Regions from separate parts of the Homo sapiens genome. Here regions 1 and 3 are each linked to region 2. Evidence: promoter capture Hi-C in human tissues and cell types (Jung and others, 2019). All regions are on one chromosome and are shown on one strand. The core of a region is centred on a gene start or on the middle of the fragment in contact, and the rest is flanking DNA. Distances in the headings are between cores, read along the strand shown. Region 1 holds the start of ENHO (energy homeostasis associated). Region 2 holds the start of DCAF12 (DDB1 and CUL4 associated factor 12). Region 3 overlaps DNAI1 (dynein axonemal intermediate chain 1).

What was found. The method cuts DNA at HindIII sites, captures the fragments that hold promoters and counts their contacts. A contact is called where the count stands out against the background at its distance.
Region 1: a contact is called between the fragment with the promoter of ENHO here and the fragment with the promoter of DCAF12 in region 2, in 1 of the 25 tissues and cell types used here (IMR-90 fibroblasts).
Region 3: a contact is called between a fragment that was not itself captured here and the fragment with the promoter of DCAF12 in region 2, in 1 of the 25 tissues and cell types used here (dorsolateral prefrontal cortex).

What each region holds. Positions count from the first base shown.
Region 1 is chr9:34,521,722-34,524,421 of GRCh38, reverse strand. It overlaps ENHO (energy homeostasis associated), which reads left to right and starts at 1,432. Exons shown (of 2, transcript NM_198573.3): 1 at 1,432-1,645; 2 at 2,566-2,700. RefSeq lists silencers at 1,007-1,376, 1,397-1,506 and an enhancer at 2,136-2,688. The HindIII fragment of the contact is 6,325 bases long and covers 1-2,700 here.
Region 2 is chr9:34,125,326-34,128,025 of GRCh38, reverse strand. DCAF12 (DDB1 and CUL4 associated factor 12) reads left to right here and starts at 1,328. Exons shown (of 9, transcript NM_015397.4): 1 at 1,328-1,672. The coding sequence starts at 1,595. RefSeq lists a silencer at 1,594-1,643 and an enhancer at 1,078-1,779. The HindIII fragment of the contact is 26,684 bases long and covers 1-2,700 here.
Region 3 is chr9:34,464,439-34,467,138 of GRCh38, reverse strand. The region is part of intron 1 of DNAI1 (dynein axonemal intermediate chain 1); the gene reads right to left. Among named protein-coding and RNA genes, the nearest start is that of DNAI1, 7.0 kb to the right of the region's middle. The HindIII fragment of the contact is 7,861 bases long and covers 1-2,700 here.

The DNA of each region.
Region 1 (2,700 bases), core at 183-2,682, 400 kb before region 2:
TCTTCCCTTTCTTCTTTCAAGATAGCATCTGGATTTACAGGGGTCTTATGTGAATTTCATGGCATTGGATTGGGGGAAGGGGCCTCTTAGTCACATGGTCCTGGGGGTTGTGTCAGCTGGCATTTGCTGAGATGTGATCGATCTGCTATAAATTAGTGAATAACAACCCTGAGAGGTAGCATTACAACCATTTTACAGATGAGGAAGCTGAGGCTAAGAGAGATTTAGTAACTTGCTCAAGATCACAAAGTTAGTAAGTGAACCAGGAATCAATACTGCCCCGATTACAGTAGGCACTTAGTTATATGAGTCTAGGATTCCAGAGAGAAGTTAAGGCTAGACTTGGGAGCACTGGGAGTCTTCATGATATAGCTTCAGGGATGTGATCCTCCAAGGAGAGCATGTAGAGCGGGATGAGAAGACGGCCGGATCAGAATAGGTGACAATCACTGGCCTGTGAAGGTCGGGGAGGACAAGGTCTACCTCACTGCTCCTGTCCAAGCTATCTTCTTCTTAGGGGAGCTTTTAGGATGGCAAGGCAGGATTTCCACCACGCCTGCACCTATTCCAGCCAGGGCAGAACCATCGCTCAGGACACTCCATTTCTGTCCCAGACTCCCCAACAGCCTGGCAGCAAGCCTGCGACCAACACTGGGTAGGAACTCAGTAAATGTGTCCAAAGAACCTGTGTTGCCAGAGATTTTCACACCTCTTAGGGCCAGGGAACCTGGGGCCCTCTAAAGTGGGAATGCAGAGTCCACACCCAGGTGGCAGAGGGAAGTGCGGGACTGCACTATAGGCGGTTCCCTAGGTGAGGAGATTCAGTCTCCTGCCAGGTGTGGGGACGCGGGGCCTTCCTCCGGATGACTTACTTAAGAGACCTCTCCCAGATACAGAGGGGTGGTTTCCTCACATGTGGAAATGCAGAGGCCTTGGCCTTTCTCGGATGTGGGGTGTACAACCCTTCCAGGTGTAGAAGGTGCAAGAAATCCCTACCAGAGGTTAGGCCTTGCCCCCACCCCATCCCCTCTCCCGGGAAGGATCCAGGGCCAGCTACTCCTTCGGCCCTCCTCCCGCCCCGCGCCGGCACGAGAGGCGGGCTGGTCCCCACCTCAGCGCACCACCAATGGTGCGGGAACCGGGGTTCGGCCAGCCAATTGAGTGGCGGCAGCGGCGCTGGGATGGCTCCGCCCCCGGGCCGCAGGCCGCCGGCCTCCCAGGAGGCGAGGCTCTTCGCTGTTTTTGCTGGCCGCCGAGCCCGGCCGAGCCCAGCCGAACGTAGCCGAGCCCAGCCGAGCCCAACCGAACGCAGCCGAGCCCAGCCGAACACCGCGCAGCTCCCGCCGCCGCCGCCCGAGCGCTGCCGAGCGAGCGAGCGCCGCGGCCGCGGAGGAGGTGCGGCCCCAAGGGGAGGAGGTGCCCGCTCACCGCAGACCGCCCGCGGCAGAGGCCGCCCCGGTCGCGCCGCGGCGGGAGCGGCCGGTGGAGGCTGCGCGGCCGAGGGGGAGGGCCGGGGGAGCGGACGTCGCCTCTGCTGGTCTCCCACCTCCCGCCGCCCCCCGCCCGCAGGCTCCCAAGCCTTAGTCGGCGCCGAGCATCCCGCTGCCCCGGACCCTCCCGCGGGCGCGCACCAGGCTCAACTCAGGTAAGAAGGGCCTCCCGCCACGGGCACGGGGGCCAAGAACACGCGACCCGAAGATGGAGATAAAGAGACAGAGACACACTGCCGCGGAGAGAGACGAACACAAAGACAGAGACACAGGAACCACCGAAAAGACCCCACGGAGAAGGGGATAGGGACACGTCCATGGGAACAGAGGGGGATACAGCCTGGAAGAGAGAGAGAGACACAGAGACTGATGCAGAGATACACAGAGACACACTGGTAGAGAAATGAGACATAGAGGAGACATACTCAGAGATGGGGACACACGGAGAGGCAGCCACACACACAGAGGTGGGTGTGCAGAGGCACAGGCACACATCCAACGGAGGGACAGTGAGACACCAGACACACACACACACCTGACCCAGAGAGGCAGCCCCACATAGAGGCACACAGCCCTGGACGCACAGAGCCTGCACATGCCTGCCAGGGCCTCCACAAAGTTCCCTCTGTGCAAGCTGGCGCCTCTGGAGGTCTCCTGGTCGGGCTGGCTGGAGTCCTGGGAGAGAGGAGGCGCCCAGGCCACACCAGAGCTGCTTACAACCCCCATCCTTTTGGGCTGGGGGCTTCCTGGATCCCACCCACCAACAGAGGGCTTTTGAGGGCTGCAAGCTTGGTGGGCAGGACCAGGGCATGCCCACCAGGTCTAAGGAGAATGAGATGACGGCTGCCTACTGCAGCTTCCCCACGGTGGCTACACACTCATTCAGGTGGCCAGAACCAAGCCTGTGGATGGGGGTGATGGCTCTGTGGGGTATTCGAGCCTGTTGGGACCCAAGGTCTTTCACCAGGGAGGCCAGAAATGTGGGAGGGAGGCTCTCTTCCCTACCTCTCTCCTCCTAGGCCTCACCCCACCCTTCCTCCTCACCACCCTCTCCTTTACTGTATACCCCCAACAGGCTCAGGACTGCAGGTAGACATCTCCACTGCCCAGGAATCACTGAGCGTGCAGACAGCACAGCCTCCTCTGAAGGCCGGCCATACCAGAGTCCTGCCTCGGCATGGGCCTCACCATTGAGGCAGCTCCACTGTCT
Region 2 (2,700 bases), core at 79-2,578:
AAAAAGAAAGCTGACCCACTCCTGACCCACTCACTATGTGCATATCTCTAAAGGGACAGGCCTGACCAAATAAGATGGAGCTGCCTTTCGCAAGACATTAGGGGTTAGTGGTAGTGCCGACTTGGGATGGCAGGAGACCCTGCTTCAATCTGGTCTTTGATTCGGCTTGGAAAACAAATCCAAATCTCCTTGTTGACAGAACTTGAGATGGTCCAACAGAGCTCCTTGGAGGTATGAGGCCTGAGGCCTGAAGCCTGAAGTGACCAGCAGGTAACTGGGCACCACAGCCTGAGGCCAATCAGCCCCAAGCAAGAGCATCCTGCTTCCTCAGAGGGTTTGTTTGCTTGAGGAAAGCGAAGGCTGGCAGTCATATTCCTTCAGGATCTTCCAAAAATGTTGGCAAGGGTGATCCTGATGAAGCCCCCTTGTTTGGAGGCCAATGCCAGCTCTAACTGGACTGGCAAGCCAAAAATGACCACTCTCTTTCCTGTAGTTCAGAATTCCCGACCTGCCCTAATGGAGACGCAACCTGAATCCAAGAGTGAGGCAGGCAGCTACAGATAAGTTTACAGCGTGATGACTACTTCATAAAGCACAAAAGACCATGTGGTTTAGATGGCAGGTCATGGAAATCTAAAGGGAATGGTGAAGTTGCACCGTAAGGGGAAGGTGACTGAGGAGCTGAAACTGACTGAGGGGCTGAAGCATTTCGGACAGGAGAAAGGATCAGGAGGAGACAGAGCGGAGAATGGAGCCTCAGGGCTACCCAGCGGTGGGAAGAGGGTAGCCAGAGACTCGTAGGGCGGCCTGGGTTGGTTGTGCTGGGCAGGTTCTCAGTGGTGGGAAAGTCTGGCCACACTGCCCTGACTTCCTGACTGGACTTCACCTCGAGGGTGGGAGCGGTTCCTGCCCCCCACCCCCCCACCCCCCTGTCCAGCCCTTGGAGCCAGGGCACGGTTTGTGACAGATTCAGGGAAACGTTTGGTGCCAGATGGGAGGTAACCGGGTTAAGGCCTGCACTAGGGAGGATTCCTTCCCCCAGCAGCACTGGTGGTCCTCACTTCCGGGTGCCTGCGGATAGGCGGGCTGGGGTCGGAGGTCGGCGGCCAGAAGCCAGATTCCCTTGGCCCCAGCTCGTCCACTTCCATCCAGCAGTAGCCAAACAACCGTTGAAAATGGCCTGGCGGCGGCCGGGAAACACCAGAGAACTATCTTCCAACCCCTAGATCCCGCCCATCTCGTTCCGGCGGTGTTTCCGTGGCGACGCTATCCGAAGTGCGGCTGCGCAAGGGTGACGGCGCGCGAGCAAGGGGGAGGGGGTGTTTTGGTTCTAGCCGCTCGCCGTCCTTGCAGGCTCTGCCGTCGGAAAGCCGCTCATTCTCGCTTCCCCTTCCCTTTCCCGGCTCAAGTCCTTCCTCTCTCTTTCCTTTCTTTCCGCCTATCTTTTTTCTGCTGCCGCTCCGGGTCCGGGCCATTTTCCGGGCCGGGCGCACTAAGGTGCGCGGCCCCGGGGCCCAGTATATGACCCGCCGTCCTGCTATCCTTCGCTTCCCCCGCCCCATGTGGCTGCGGGGCCGCGGCGGCGCTGCCCACTATGGCCCGGAAAGTAGTTAGCAGGAAGCGGAAAGCGCCCGCCTCGCCGGGAGCTGGGAGCGACGCTCAGGGCCCGCAGGTGAGGGTTGAGAGGCCGGCACCTGGGTGGTGAGGCTGAGGAACCAAGATGGGCTTAGGGTCCGCAGATCCTGCGACGGGAATCGGGGTCCAGGGTCTGCAGTCAGAGGCAAAACAGGAATGGGTTCAGGGCCTATAGGGTCAGGACTGGACCCTCGTTAACTGGAGGGCAGATAGGCCAGGGCGGTGAGGAGCCAAAGGGGAACTCAGGAATGGGACATAATCCGCGGGAGGCCTGCATTCGTGGATAGGGCTTGAAAAGAAACCAGAATCTTGGCTTTGGAGGAAGGGGAAACCGAAGTTAAGGGAATCGGAAACAAACTCTGGTAGAGTGAACTCTACCTTCCATGGGCCCTAGGAAGCTGGGATGATTGCGTCCCTCCTGGAAGAAGGAAGTAGTCTCCCTATATGTATACCCAACCCTGAGCTGGGCCTTTCGGCGTTTGGACCCCAAAAGAAACAACAGTTCCCAGGTATCATCTCTATGCCGCCCCCTTTGGAGGGGAAGGCCTTCTTGGACATAGATATGGCCTCTGATTTCCCGGGGGCCTACTACCCCGTTGGCGGTTGATTTTTCGAATTCTGCAACTGCCTGGAGCGCGGGCATGATGACAGAGGAACGGTCATTGATGATGCATCCCTGGAAGACCTGGGAGCCAGGTCTGGCTCCTTGGACTGTATCTTCCGTGCTCCAGTGGGAGTACAGACTGAGAGGGAGAAGGGGGCTGGGTAGAGATGCAGCCCATGTCGGTATGGGAATCACTCTACCTCTCATTTCCTTCAATCTTTCACTCCTAAAATGTCTAGTAAACCTTTTAGTCTGTTCTATTCTGCATTCATTCCCTTGACTTTCAGCCCTTGTAATTCACATTGGTAAGTTTGACTGTGAGCAACATCTTTTTAATGTTGGAAGAGTTAAACGACTTTCTGGATTGAGATTCTTGTTCTCTTGTGTTTGTATTTGTGTTGTTTGTAAATTCTGCAGTATGAGTTATGAGTTGGTGATTTCTGTAATACAGTAGGATCTGT
Region 3 (2,700 bases), core at 39-2,538, 340 kb before region 2:
ATTTACCAGAAACAATATGGAAGTTACTTTAGAGTAAAGCGAGTTATATCTTCCACTGGAGGAGCTGAGCAAAGAGAATACCTCCTTCTAGCTTTGGTTGCTTAAAGAGCCATAGGATCTTGTCCCTTGCTGACATTGCCTAGCATGAACAGATGAGCTAGGGTCAATCAGATTCCCTCCTTAAGAATTTGAACTAGGACTACAGGGAGAACCAGCAGTTGGATGGAGATATTCATGGAAATGTTTGTGAGGTAGAGAGGTCAGAACAGTTATGATAAGCTGGAAACAGACTAAAATTATGAGGGAGCGGAGACCATGGAAATCTGGCCAGTTGGGAAATAAGAATAAGAATGAAACATAGTTGTTAAGAGAAATAGAGAGGCTGTGAGAGATGTGGAGAAAGTAGTTGGTCCCTATACCTGTTTCAGAATTAATTGTTTTCCAATTTCAATTCTAGGTTATCTATGTACTTATAATAACCATCTGTAACTCCCCACATATATACCTTCTCCCTTCTCTCATCCTCTTTTATCTGAGGTAACTTGAGTGAGCCTCTGTTCTTTGTAACTTAAAGAGCTTAACTAAAGTAATGTGTCTTAGAGTTTGCCAGGTCTGTAAAGGGCAGAAAGAGAAGAGAAGACTTGGGCATTCCATGCAGAGGGAACAAAATAATTAACAAAGACACAGAGGCACAGAAGCAGATGACTCTCCAAGGAGCAGCAGATTATTTTGTCCATATACACTCCAGTTTGTTCCCAAATAAGATTTGAGGCTGAATACATGACACATTGAGAAAATAAGTAAATGAGCAAATGGATGTGATGTAAGAATAAAAGTAGAAAAATAAGCTTAACATTAGGGGTAGGGTCCCTACATAATTAATAGGATTAGGCTGCTTTAACTAGGATAAAGGAGGCATGAATTGCTTCTTCTGCAGGCCAAGAAAGAAAAGTTAGTGTTCAGAGTAGTGCAGTACATACCTTCCCATCACTCATTTATTCACTCATCAACTAACTCATTCAGTCATTATTCATTCATTCAGCATTTATTAAGCATCTACTATGTGCCAGGTCCTCGGATGACGGCTAAAGAGGAACCAAGATTGAGTTGGTTCTCACACCCAGGGTTCTCAATCTAGGAGGTGAGATAAATGGAGGACATAAATCCACCATACAAACCAGAATCCAGTGACTCTATGAGTAGGACAAAGCGTTGTGAGACTCAAACCAGTGAAACTAAAGTTACAACAGCTGTGTCCTTTGCTTGCTTCTTGCATACAACTCTGTCAGTGCTCAGTGACTGCAAAGATTGAACACTTGATACAAATTCCTAACTGGCAGAAAACAATTTCATGTGGCTTGCTCACAGCTGGAGCCAGAGAGTCAACATTACTCCTCAGCATCAACTTGCAGGCTGCAAAGCCCAGCAACGAGCACAGGAGCCCTCTGCCATTATTATTTGAGTACCTGGCATGTACTGAGTGCTAACAATGTGCTAGGCCCCCTAGTACACAGGGGAGGAAAACAAATTCTGGCCTCAAATGCTCACAGCTGTTTTGTAATCTGATAATTGTGCATGACAAACCTCAGACCATAACTCTGAAAATAGCATGACTATAATCATAACAAAATGGAACTGCCATTGGCAAAAATTGTTTTCTAGTTATCACTTCCAGAAGGAATTCCATTAACACAACTAGGGGAAAAGAAGAAAAAACTGTCTCAGCTTTCTGCTGCTAAACCTCAAAATTATCATCAACTGCATCCATCCCTTCTCCTGTCCTGTTACAAAGTGTGCCTCCTCCTGTCCACAACATCATCTCCTCAGAGACTTGGCTCTAGTCATTATTTAATCTTTCTCCTTTATCTTCAACTTCTCTCTCCGTTCAGGATCCTTCCCCTCAGCATTTAATATATTCAAGTCTGTCATCTTAAAAAAACAATCTTTGCCTACATAGTTCTTACTGCCTTCTTAGCTCAATTCAGTTTAGCTTTTCACTCTGAAATTGTCCTTTCCAAGGTCCCCAATAACTTCCAAGTTATTAAATCTAATAGTTATATCTTAGTGTTTATCTTCATTGACACCTTAGCAACATGCAACTTGGCTGACCATACAGTTTCACTGAAACACATTCTTCCTTTGGCTTCTGGGATATTATTTTTCCTTGTTGTCTTCTTACTTCTCTGATTACTCCTTCTTATTCTCCATTTTGGACTCTTCTTCTTCTATCCAAACCTTAAATACTGGTGGTCCCCCCAGAAGTCTTCCCTAATTCCCCCAGAATCAGAATGAAGACCCCCTACCACATGCTTCCATAGAACCCTGTGCTACTTCCCCAACCACAGTTGATCACTCATTCAACATTCATCAAGAGCTTCTGACGTCATCATGGCCACTGTTTTAGGGGCTGAGAATACAGATATAAGCAAAAACATCCACAGGCCCTGCTCCCAAGGAGCTCACAGTCTAATGGGGGAGACATACAATAATCAAATAATTACACAAATAAGTGAATAATTACAAACCGTGATGCATGCTATGGAAGAAAGGAACACAGAGCAATGAGACTATATAACAGAGGAAACTTACCCTACCTTCCATAACGGGGCAGGGGGCATTGGGGGCAGGTTGTGGGGATTGATTTGGGGGCTGAAATCTTAGGAGTGAGTACATGTGTGAGGGAGGGTGTGAAAAGCATTC